Regions from separate parts of the Homo sapiens genome. Here region 2 is linked to region 1. The links are contacts of gene promoters, found by promoter capture Hi-C in blood cells and fetal thymus (Javierre and others, 2016). All regions are on one chromosome and are shown on one strand. Each heading gives the region's core, a stretch centred on a gene start or on the middle of the fragment in contact. The rest is flanking DNA. Distances are from core to core; before and after follow the strand shown. Region 1 holds the start of ACTR3B (actin related protein 3B). Region 2 has its middle 45 kb from the start of ATP6V0E2.

Region 1 (5,647 bases), core at 729-3,228:
TTGGCATCAATATGGCACCCTCCCAGGAGCGGGGAACCACCAGGTTGCCTAAGGAAGGGTGAACTGGCCCAGGTCAGAGATGGAGCCGATCAGAACTCTCATGCAGATCAGTAGTGGGACCATGCCTGTGAATAGTCGCTGCCCTCCAGCCTGGGCAACATAGTGAGACCCTGTCTCTAAGAAACAAGCAATAAGAAAAGAAAAAGAAAAGGGACCAAGGCAGGGCTTTGGCAAAACACAAAGCAAGCCAGCCAATCTTTAACCCCAGCCTTGGGCTTCTAAACTGGGATTCCTCCACACTTACTCCTTTTTATTTTCCTCCCATTTGCTTCTCTCTTCAGTTCTCCTGAACATTCTCTAGGTCTGGGCCTTAATGGGTACTTATGAGTTAAAAAAAAGAAATGATGATGGGTTACCTAGGAGTGGTCAACGTATCTATTACTTCTAGGTAAAAAACACAATGTTTTAAGTACCTGTAAAAACAACATGTCTTGGCTGGGCGTGGTGGCTCATGCCTGTAATCCCAGTACTTTGGGAGGCTGAGGCAGGCAGATCACGAGGTCAGGAGCTCAAGACCAGTCTGGCCAGCATGATGAAACCCTGTCTCTACTAAAAATACAAAAAATTAACCGGGCATGGTAGTGGGTGCCTGTAATCCCAGCTACTTGGGAGGCTGAGGCAGGAGAATTGCTTGAACCTGGGAGGCGGAGTTGCAGTGAGCCGAGATTGCGCCACTGCACTCCAGCCTGGGCGACAGAGTGAGACTCATCTCAAAAAACAAAACAAAACAAAAAAATACATGTTTCCAGAAAGCTCCTAAAAAATTAGTATCAAGAATTTACGATCGGGCAAGAAGCAGGAAGCAAGTGGCAAGTGGGACTCTCAGTACCTTTATAATATAGTAGGTGGTGTTTGCCTTCTTTGGTTTCAGTAAGAACTTTTGGGCGATCATCCCATCTTCGACACTTGAAAACATTTTCCAGGAGTGATCTTGGTGTGGTTTACTCAGTCTAAGGCCATTCATTCCTTAAGGCTGGCCAAGCATTTGTTTTGCAGATTTTTCTTCTTAGAAAAATTTAGGCCGTGTTAGGTATAATAATTCCAACTAATTTTTTTTGTTGTTTTTTTGAGACAGACTCTCGCCCTGTTGTCCAGGCTGGAGTGCAATGGCGCGATCTTGGCTCACTGCAACCTCCGCCTCCCAGGTTCAAGCGATTCTCCTGCCTCAGCCTCCGGAGCAGCTGGGATTACAGGCACCCGCCACCACGCCCGGCTAATTTTTGTATTTTCAGTAGAGAAGGGGTTTCACCATGTTGGCCAGGCTGGTCTGGAACTCCTGACCTTGTGATCCACCCTCAGCCTCCCAAAGTGCTGGGATTACAGGCGTGAGCCACCGCGCCCGGCCAATTCCAACTAATTTTTTTTTTTTTTTTTATTATATGGGGAAGGTTACTCAGTCATTCAACAAACATTTGGGCACTTCCACAGGTACACCAAATACTGTGCTAAGCACCTGCTGCTCATCAATAGTGATTAAGACAGACTCAAGCCCTATCCTAGAAGATTTGATAGTCCAGTAGGGGAGGCAGACAACAAATACATAAATATAAAAATATAAACACTTTGCTTTAAGGGTTAGGAATGAAACCAACAGATTGTTGAGACAGAGGATACAGTACCGGTAGGGGACATAGTCAGGGTGATCAGGAACAACTTCCCTCGCAAGGTGACATTCGAGCGAAGACTTACAGGAGGAGAAAGGCGCCAGGCCTCGGAAATGGGGTCACGTTCATGTAAGTCAGTTAAAAATAAACCCCAATCTCTCCAGCAGCAAGGTTGGACGTATGGGGCCAAGAAGCCTCGCTGCCAGCACTAAAGATGGCGCGCCGGAGTGGGGGTGGGGGTGTTGGGGGAGGCGGGGCGTGCGCGCGTTCTGATTGGCCGACCGGGGAGTGACGTCACGTGTCGGCCGCCGAGCATCCGGGCTCCCGGCAGCGGCGCTGCGGCGGCTCGCGGGAGACGCTGCGCGCGGGGCTAGCGGGCGGCGGAGCGGACGGCGACGGGGCGCTCTCGGGCTGCCGGCGGGGCCGAGCGCCGCGCGTCCCGAGCATGGCAGGCTCCCTGCCTCCCTGCGTGGTGGACTGTGGCACCGGGTAAGAGCAGCTCGGCGCCCACCCCCGCTCCTCCGCGGCCCCGCTCCCGGCCCCTGGCGTCCACCTCGCCTGGAGGTCGAGCTGCGTCCGTCGCCCCGGGCTTGAGCCCCGCGATCACCTGGGCAGGTGGGGCGCCGGCCGCCGCTTCCCTCCAAGCCTTGCCTTGACGTCGTAAAACCCCCTCTTCCCTGCCGGGAAGGGCCACAAGAGGAAAAGCACGGAGGGTAGGGACGCGGTGCCCACTCTGAGCGAGCCCGGCGCTCCTCGCCTCCCCCGCCCACGTGGCCGGGCCCCTGGACCCGCAGCCCGGCTCCGGCCGTCGCCGGGGTGGACACCCTGAGGGACACCGGGAGCGCGGGATCTCCCCTCCTAGGAATATTCGCCAGCGTGAGGCACAGATCATCACTGCAGATCCTTTAACGTCACTCATCTCCTAGTGAACGGTGTCCCTGCCTTCCAGCGTTCTCAGCACTGGCCCTCGTTCTGTCCCCGCGTGTGCGTGTCATTCCTCCTGGCTGAGGATTCTTTACCACCTACTTGTGGAGAGAATAGCATCGATCTCCCAACTTGATACCATTTTTACTGCCCTCCCTGCGCTTTTCCAGTATGAAATGGCACACTCAGGCCAAGCTGTCCCTTTGGTTTGCATAGATTTGCCTTTTCGCTGAAAAATGATGTGTTTAAAAAGACTCCATTTTGAAAAATACCCTAAATTTGGGAGAGCATGTTTGTGGAATTGTGGTAGAGGTTTTTGTTTTTAACTTTTTGAGTGTGACCACTTCTTTCGTTGCCGTTAAGCTATTAAAAAGAGATCTTAGGAAATGCCCTGAAGTATCGGTGACCCAAGTTAGCTGGTTGTAGTAAGGTGATTGCTGAATCCATGTAGCTGGTAGTTTGGGAATACAAGCTTGCCTGCCTGCGTTATGGGTGTAGTGCTTAGTAAAATAGCCTGGAAGTAAATTTGGTCTCTTAGCGATTTTTTTCAAGAAGGGATTTTAATCATTTTTGCCACAAAATGTAACATGGCATGTTCACCTTACCCTTGATTCTTTTCTATAGAAAAATGCACTTGGTTTGGTTTCCTTGACAACCTTGTGGGGGTGCCTTCTTTAGTTTGCTACAGTCCATCTCCTACTGTTAGTTCCTTCCTTTTGCTGCTGAAGCGACCAGAAGTGGTTGTGGACTGGAAAAATCCTCTTTGCTTGTGTGAATTCTTTTTGAAATACACGTCATATCAAGCTTTGTAGCTCTTTATTTTAGAACTTGCTTTTCTACCTAAAACACAAGCCAAAATCAGCGTTGTCGATACTACAGCTCCCCTCCCTCAATTATTGACACCCTTAACTCATGCCCTCCCCCAATGGGTTCACCTCAGGTCCCCTCAGGTCTGGTTGTGTCAAGAGTGAAACCAGTGGGTGAAAGTATTTTTCATTTCCACATTTGCATGTGAGATTTTTGCTTTGTAGTTTTAGTCTTGCAGAACTATTAAAATATAAAGGAATTCTTGGTAGTAGCAATAAAATAATGCTCACAGAGTTGTCATACCTTTAAGATTAGTAAGTCGTGGACCTTACTCATCTTTCTTGCTATAAATACCTAAAATGTCGTGCTCAGTTTTGACCTTTTGAGGTAAGTGATTAATGTAACTTGGCTAACTTGGAGATTCAACTTCTATAGATCATTGTTTTGTGGCCCAAAGTCATGCTTCAGAAGTTGGTGTCAAGACTTAGAAACGGTGGCAGGGAATCTCCATATGAATTCCCCATATCGAGTGTATGGCCAGAAGGAGCCTGAAAGAGCCCGAATTTACCAACTTGAGCACATCAGTAGTTCTTACATTTCCCAGAGAGCCAAAATGATTTTTGGATTTAGTTTTGCCTCAAAATAGGACAAAAAGTGGTAAAATTCAGATAAAAATAACCAAGCCAAAGGAAAAGAACGGACCTAGGAAGTCACCCTGAGCTTTAGCCCAGTGGCTGCTGAAGTTGGTCCGCACATTCGACCTTAGTCTTCCTGTCTGACAACATCATAAGAGTCATGGTTATGTAATTCCTGTCATCAGAAATCAAGAGAAATACCTGTTTCTTGGGTGAAAAAAGCCTTTTTTTGTAGTACTAAATTGTAAAAGCATTGAGCTATACATAGTGGGCACTAATGATTTATTGGACAGTGTGATAAACAGTATTTTTTACAAATAAATTTCATCCCAGTATCCTTGAATCCTCCTCAGGTAAACCCCGAGACTACCTGAGTAAGCAGTGATGTGCTGGAGGCCAGGATAATATGGACAAAGGGATCTGCTGAGTCCAAAAATAAAGCTTCATCTATTTAAAGGGATGACTAGGCTGCATAGTTTTCAGAGAATATTTCACAACTCCGGTCTCACTTCTCTGAGCCAAACTTTTCAAATGAAGTCTTTTGCATTTTTCAACTTTTTTTGAAATAATTTCAAATCTACTGAAAGCTGGAAGAGAACAAAAAACTACTGTATACTCTTCTTCCAGTTTTACCAACTGTTAACATTTGCTTTGTCACTCTCTGTATGTCCATACATATTATTATTACTTTCCTGCACTGTTTGAGAGTAAGTTGCAGAGATCATACCCTTTTATATCAAAATACTTGAATGCGTACTTTCTGAGGACACATTTTCCCTTCTAGAATCACATTCCAATCATCAAAATCAGAAAATTTAACATACATACAGTAGTATCCTATATACAGTATGGATTCATGTCTTTTATGGAATGTCACCCATGAAAGACCTCCCCATCAGCGGCATACATTGCATCTGGTGGGTGTCATGTCTTTTAAGTCTAATTTAATCTGGAATAATTTCTTAACCTTTTTTTGTCTTTCAAGATGTTGGCATTTTTGACAGCCAGTTGTTACCTAGTGTTTCTCTGTGATAGATACAGGATATGCATATTTGTCAGGACTACCACAGAAGTCCTGTTGATCCTTCTTAGTGCATCCCATCGAAAGGCTTAAGATAGGGACTCGCCTCAGTCTTGATGAAGTTCACTTGGATCATTTGGAGAGGGTGATGTCCACGAGGTTTCTTCACTGTTCAGTTACTATTTTTCTTTGTAATTAATAAGTCATTTGGCTGGGCGCGGTGGCTCATGCCTGTAATCCCAGCACTTTGGGAGGCCGAGGCGGGCGGATCACCTGAGGGCAGGAGTTCGAGACCAACCTGGCCAACATGGTGAAACCCCGTCTCTACTAAAAATACAAAAATTAGCTGGGTGTGGTGGTGCGTGCCTGTAGTCCCAGCTGCTTTGGAGGCTGCTCAGGAGAATCACTTGAATCCGAGAGGCGGAAGTTGCAGTGAGCCGAGATCGGGCCACTGCACTCCAGCCTGGTGACAGAGCGAGACTCCATCTCAAAAAAAAAAAAAAAAAAAAAAAAAAAAAAGTCATTTGTGGGGGAATATTTTATGTAAGTACTCTATTCTTAAACTTTCATCCATTAGTTTAAGTATCCATTGGTGA
Region 2 (5,755 bases), core at 1,039-3,538, 2.8 Mb before region 1:
ACAGTATATATTTATAATGTGAGGCCAGCTTAATAGGGACACAATGCTAGGTTCAAATCCCAGCACCAGCTATGTGATTTCAGGCAAGTAAATTAATCCCTTCATTCCTTGGTTTCTTCATCTCTAAAACGTGGGTAATAATCCCTACCTCAGTGTTAAATGTTGCCATTTTTGGATAATATTTCCTAATTCAAAAGAAGTAGGATTTCATGGTGCAGTGATTTATTTACTTATTACTGAATATTATTTTTTGTATACTAGTGATCTCTATTTCTCTCATGAATTGTCCTTGGATAACTTTTCTACTGGAGTTTTAGTGCTTCTTATCAATTTGTGTGAATGCTTATACACTGAGGATATTTGTGCTTGCTCATTACATTGCTAATTTTTCCCAGCTTGTTGTTTACCTTGTTATACATTTTCTGCAATATAAGTATTTAAACAGTCTAGGTGATCAAATCTACCAATTATTTTCCTGAATAATTTCCTTTATTATGTTTCTACTTTGAAAGTCCCTCTATATGCTAAAATGTCATATCATTTCTCTTCCACTTTTATATATATATATTTTATCCCAAATGGGAAGAACTACACTAATCCAATTTTCCCAAACATATGTATATAAGCATTCAAGACCATCAACTTTGCATTAAAAGCCCTTGGTTTTTTTAACACTACCTTCCCAAAGCTAGCATGATGGAGGTAGGCACTACTCTCAAAAATACATAAACTATACTTACAGATTGCCAGCCATGTTCTCAAACTCACACCACCTTCCATGAGTCCCTTAACTTGTCTGAGACCTTTTCTCATACAGAAATCAGGAAAGACAGAAGAGGAAGCTATGGAAGCAGACCCAATCAATAGCTGCATAAAGCACTACCAATAGTTACATGTCTGCCTTTTAAGCAAAGAATATGTTATAGCTCAAAATTCAAAGCAATATAAAAAGGTATCCTTTAAGAAGTCTTACACTACCCCATTTCTGCCTTCTATCCACCTTCTATTCCTGTGTATCTTTCCGATGCTTCTCTCTGTACATACAATATATTATTATTTGCCCCAAATATTTTTTTTTTTTTTTTGAGATGGAGTTCCGCTCTTGTTGCCCAGGCTGGAGTGCAATGGCGCGATCTTGGCTCACTGAAACCTCCGCCTCCTGGGTTCAAGCGATTCTCCTGCCTCAGCCTCCCGAGTAGCTGGGATTACAGGCATGCGCCACTACGCCCAGCTAATTTTGTATTTCTAGTAGAGACAGGGTTTCTCCATGTTGGTCAGGCTGGTCTCAAACTCCCAACCTTAGGTGATCTGCCCGCCTCGGCCTCCCAAAGTGCTGGGATTACAGGCTGAGCTATCACACCCAGCCTGCCCCAAACATTTTAAACAGTTCTTGCACGAAGACTCTTTCACTTTACTTGTTAAATGCTCCTATCTTTTGACAGCAGTAATATGTAGACTTTTCAGTTCTGCAAAGTCAGGAAAATTAACCTATTGTTGACTCAACATATTTATATATAATTGAAACTCCTCTTCCAACCATGTGTCTTAAGCAGAAGGTAATGAACCTAAGGTCAATTAATTTATGTTTGAAAGTAGAAATGTTACATCTTAAAACAGTGTTTTACATCTTTTTTTTTTTTTTTTTTTGAGACAGGGTCTCACTCTGTCACCCAGGCTGGAGTGCAGTGGTGCAATCATAGCTCATTGCAGCATTGACCTCCTGGCCTCAAGCAATCATCTGCCTCAACTTCCTGAGTGGCCGAGACTATAGGTGCACGACACCATGCCTGGCTAGTGTTCTCAAACTGTGTCCTGTGAGAAGTTCTTTTGATTGAGACCCCTGGTGAGGTCCAGTCTCAAACCCCAAACTTCAATCAGAATAGCTCTACTCCCTCTTAAGATTTTTCACAGTTTAAACATGGTTTTGATAAAAGTAAAATTGTTCCCAGACGCTAACAATAGTTTTAAAGCAACGCACAATCTCCATATTGTGCAATGTAAATTACATGACCAATTTTTTTAATGTTCCTTGGCTTGCTGCATAGAAAAGCATAGTCTCTATAGAACGAAGAATTCAATATATAAAGTTCAAACTTAAATATTTTATCCAGATCCAGTATCTTTGCCCGTCCTTAAATTTTCTATTTCTCCTTCTGAGTACTTTTTTTTTCTCTATGTTACTTCGTATATATAAGATCATAAAGCACACTGCCCTTTTGTGAATTCTGAACATTGTTGTAAGGTAAACTCTGACTTCCAGTTAAAGTGTTTTAAAAGTGTTTTAACTGTTTAAATGATGGACTAAACATATTATCTAATTTCACTCTTTCCCAAAGCCCCACTAAAACCAAAGCAAAAAAAATTTTTAAGCAATTATTTTAAAAATTAAAAAAAAAATTTAGGCCAGGCGCAGTGGCTCACACCTGTAATCCCAACACTTCGGGAGGCCGAGGCAGGCGGATCACCTGAGGTCGGGAGTTCGAGACCAGGCTGGCCAACAGGGAGAAACCCCATCTCTACTAAAAATACAAAACTAGTCAGGTGCGGTGGCGCATGCCTGTAATCCCAGCTACTCGGGAGGCTGAGACAGGAGAATTGCTTGAACCCAGGAGGCGGAGGTTGCAGTGAGTTGAGATCACGCCATTGCACTCCAGCCTGGGCAACAAGAGCAAAACTCCATCTCAAAAAACAACAACAACAAAAAATTTAAAGCAATATTAAACCATGAGGATGTGGAGAAAAGAAAAGGTGACAACAGCAAGATTTTGGCCCTGAAAAGCTGAGGACCCATCGTGCCTGACTTTAGAGATATAAGAAAGACAGCAGGGGCAAGAGCTGAGAACGAGCCCAACACACTCCCTAGATCCTTAAAGGCTCTGGAACTTGTTGGTGCCCATGTACCTGTGGGACTGGAATAGGAGGGCTGAGGAGCAAGTGCGGACAGCCCAAAATACTCAGGCCATGGTGAGACCCTCTGCCGCCCCACACTGCTGGGCACTTGCTCCTCCCTGGCTTCAGCCTTCTCTACAAGTTTTCCGGAATGTGTAAAGCAAAGGTTCTCTGCACCCACAGTTAACTGGCAGGGTCGGAGTACAATGATAAAATCAAACATTTTTAAATAAACCAAAAAAATAATAATTAAACCCTTGTTTCATTTAATTTTTTTTGTTTTGCAATCAAATAATACTCACGCTTTCTTTTACTGTGCATTTGTTTGGCTTATTTTTGAACCATCCTTTTGCTTTTTTTTTTTGAGACAGAGTCACTCTGTTGCCCAGGCTGGAGTGCAGTATCATGATCTCCACTCCCTGCAACTGCCACCTCCCGGGTTCAAGCGATTCTCCTGCCTCAGCCTCCTGAGTAGCTGGTATTACAGGCATCCACCACCATGCCCAGCTAATTTTTGTATTTTTAGTAGAGACGGGGTTTCACCATGTTGGCCAGGCTGGTCTCGAACTCTGACCTCAAGTGATCCACCCACCTCGGCCTCTCAAAGTGCTGGGATTACAGGCGTGAGCCACCGCGTCTGGCCCCTTTTACTTTCTTTTTTGAATTTTTTTCCAACCTTTTACTTTCTGAATGAATGACTTATATGTAACTACCATAGTTTTTGTTTAGTACAGAAAGTGAATTTAGTTGAGTCCATGCCAGGTGAGGTCATCTCAGGTGCAACAGTCTTACTCGTTTTAACTTTTGTACTATTCCTTGTTGTTGCCTGTTTCCTTTTACTCTGTAATCTATTTTATTTGGTTGCTTTTCTTCCTCTCAATTTTACTTTTACTTTTACATTTCAAAGGTATACAAAGTCTGTTTTTAGCATAATAGCCTTCTCAATTTATCAATTTCAAAAAAATGAAACAGTATTCCTTAACCACATATTCTGAAAGATACGACAATTAGCACAGTGGTATCTCCCACTCCCCAGCCCAAACCTAACCTAATCCCCCATGATATTGTTGACTTCCAGGAAATTTTGCTATGGCATGTTATCATTGTGTTGACATTTTTAAGGTTGAGTCGGTATTTATTCAATTGTTTTTGCCTTCTGGCTTATTTCTCCAAGAAAGATTATTCAATTATTGAAGCTGGTATCTTTATACTTCAACCTCTCTATTTCTGGAGCCCTCACTGATTCATCTTTCAGTTGGCTGGGTTATATCTGCAAGTAGATTTTTCAGTGAGGTTTATGAATGCCATTAATTCCTGAGCTTTTGCCCATTTGCAAATGTCTTATTATGCTGCATTTTAATGACATTTCAATCCAATCACATTGTCTTCCTTCTTGCCCTAACTCCCCTACTCTTGTTTTTTCCTTTTGAGCCAGAGTCTCGCTTTGTCACCCAGGCTGGAGTGCAGTGGCGCAGTCACAACTCACGGTAACCTCGAACTCTTAGATTCACACTATCCTCCCACCTCTGCCTCCCAGGTTACTGACACCACAGGCACGCATCACCACACCTGGCTTTTTCTTTTAGGGGGCAGGGGGACAGAGACAGGGTCTTGCTATGTTCCCCAGGCTGGTCTCCAACTCCTGGGCTCAAGCAATCCTCCTGCCTTGGCCTCCCAAAGTGCTGGGATTACAGGCATTAGCCACTGTGCCCAGTCCCCCTACATTCTTAAGCATTGCTTCATCATCTTTTGGCACATTACACTGTTGAAAACCCCAAGACTAAGGTGATTTTATTTTTTCCATTATAGGTGGCCTGTTGGCTTTTTTCCTGCTTAAATATGTGTAGTATTCTTTTATCTTTTAGGGGTTTGTTTTGTTTTGTTTTTGAGATGGAGTTTCACTCTCGTTGCCCAGGCTGAAGTGCAATGTCATGATCTTGGCTCACCTCAACCTCTGCCTCCCAGGTTCAAGCGATTCTCCTGCCTCAGCTTCCCAAGTAGCTGGATTTACAGGCATGCACCACCACACCTGGCTAATTTTGTATTTTTAGTAGAGATGGGGTTTCTCCATGTTGGTCAGCTGGTCTGACCCCAGGTGATCTGCCCACCTCGGCTTCCCAAAGTGCTGGGATTACAGGCGTGAGCCACCGTGCCCGGCCTATCTTTCAGGTTTTATAAATTAACCAGGATACGCTTCCATTTTAATGACTCTGAATTTTTTCCAGTTCACAGTGAGTCCTTATATTAATATTATATGATCTTTCATTATATTCCAGGAAAACTTTGTCTTTTATTTATTAATGTTACATCTGTTCCACACACTCTGTTCTCTTCAGCAGGAACACCAGCTCTGACTACAGTAGATGCCTTCTGGACTCTTCTCCCACAGCTTCCATCTTCTTTCTAATCACCATGACCTCTTTGTTCTTTCCTACCGTGGTCTACGTAATTTCAGGAAGTTGATCCTCACATCAGTGATTTCAGAACCACTGGTACTACCTCATGTAACCTCCAACATGCTTTTAATTCCTGAAATGATTTTAGTTTTCTATTTCTTTCCTTATGGATGTCAGCTGACCTCCATCTCCTCCTTTTAGCTTTCTTTAATCTTTTAAAATTACTTCTTTGTTCTTTTGTTTTATTGAGCTCGTGTTGTCTAAATTTAAGAGCAAAGTGGCTTTATCTAAAATTCCATTCTAGCTGGGCACAGTGGCTCACACTAGTAATCCCAGCACTTTGGGAGGCTGAGGCAGGCAGATCACCTGAAGTCAAGAGTTCAAGACCAGCCTGGCCAACATGGTGAAACCCCATCTCTACTAAAAATACAAAAATTAGCCAGGCATGGTAGCAGGCACCTGTAATCCTA

Evidence for each region. The method cuts DNA at HindIII sites, captures the fragments that hold promoters and counts their contacts. A CHiCAGO score of 5 or more calls a contact.
Region 2: a fragment that was not itself captured here is called in contact with the fragment with the promoter of ACTR3B in region 1 in 15 of 17 cell types (M2 macrophages, total B cells, endothelial precursors and 12 more); the score reaches 23.8 in M2 macrophages.

The regions. Positions count from the first base shown.
Region 1 is chr7:152,757,774-152,763,420 of GRCh38, forward strand. ACTR3B (actin related protein 3B) reads left to right here and starts at 1,979. Exons shown (of 12, transcript NM_020445.6): 1 at 1,979-2,153. The coding sequence starts at 2,110. It also overlaps the pseudogene RN7SL845P. RefSeq lists enhancers at 1,621-1,780, 2,781-2,830 and silencers at 2,031-2,550, 2,311-2,605. The HindIII fragment of the contact is 7,028 bases long and covers 1-3,058 here.
Region 2 is chr7:149,916,008-149,921,762 of GRCh38, forward strand. It overlaps a transcript of ACTR3C not described here. Among named protein-coding and RNA genes, the nearest start is that of ATP6V0E2, 45 kb to the left of the region's middle. The HindIII fragment of the contact is 9,060 bases long and covers 1-5,755 here.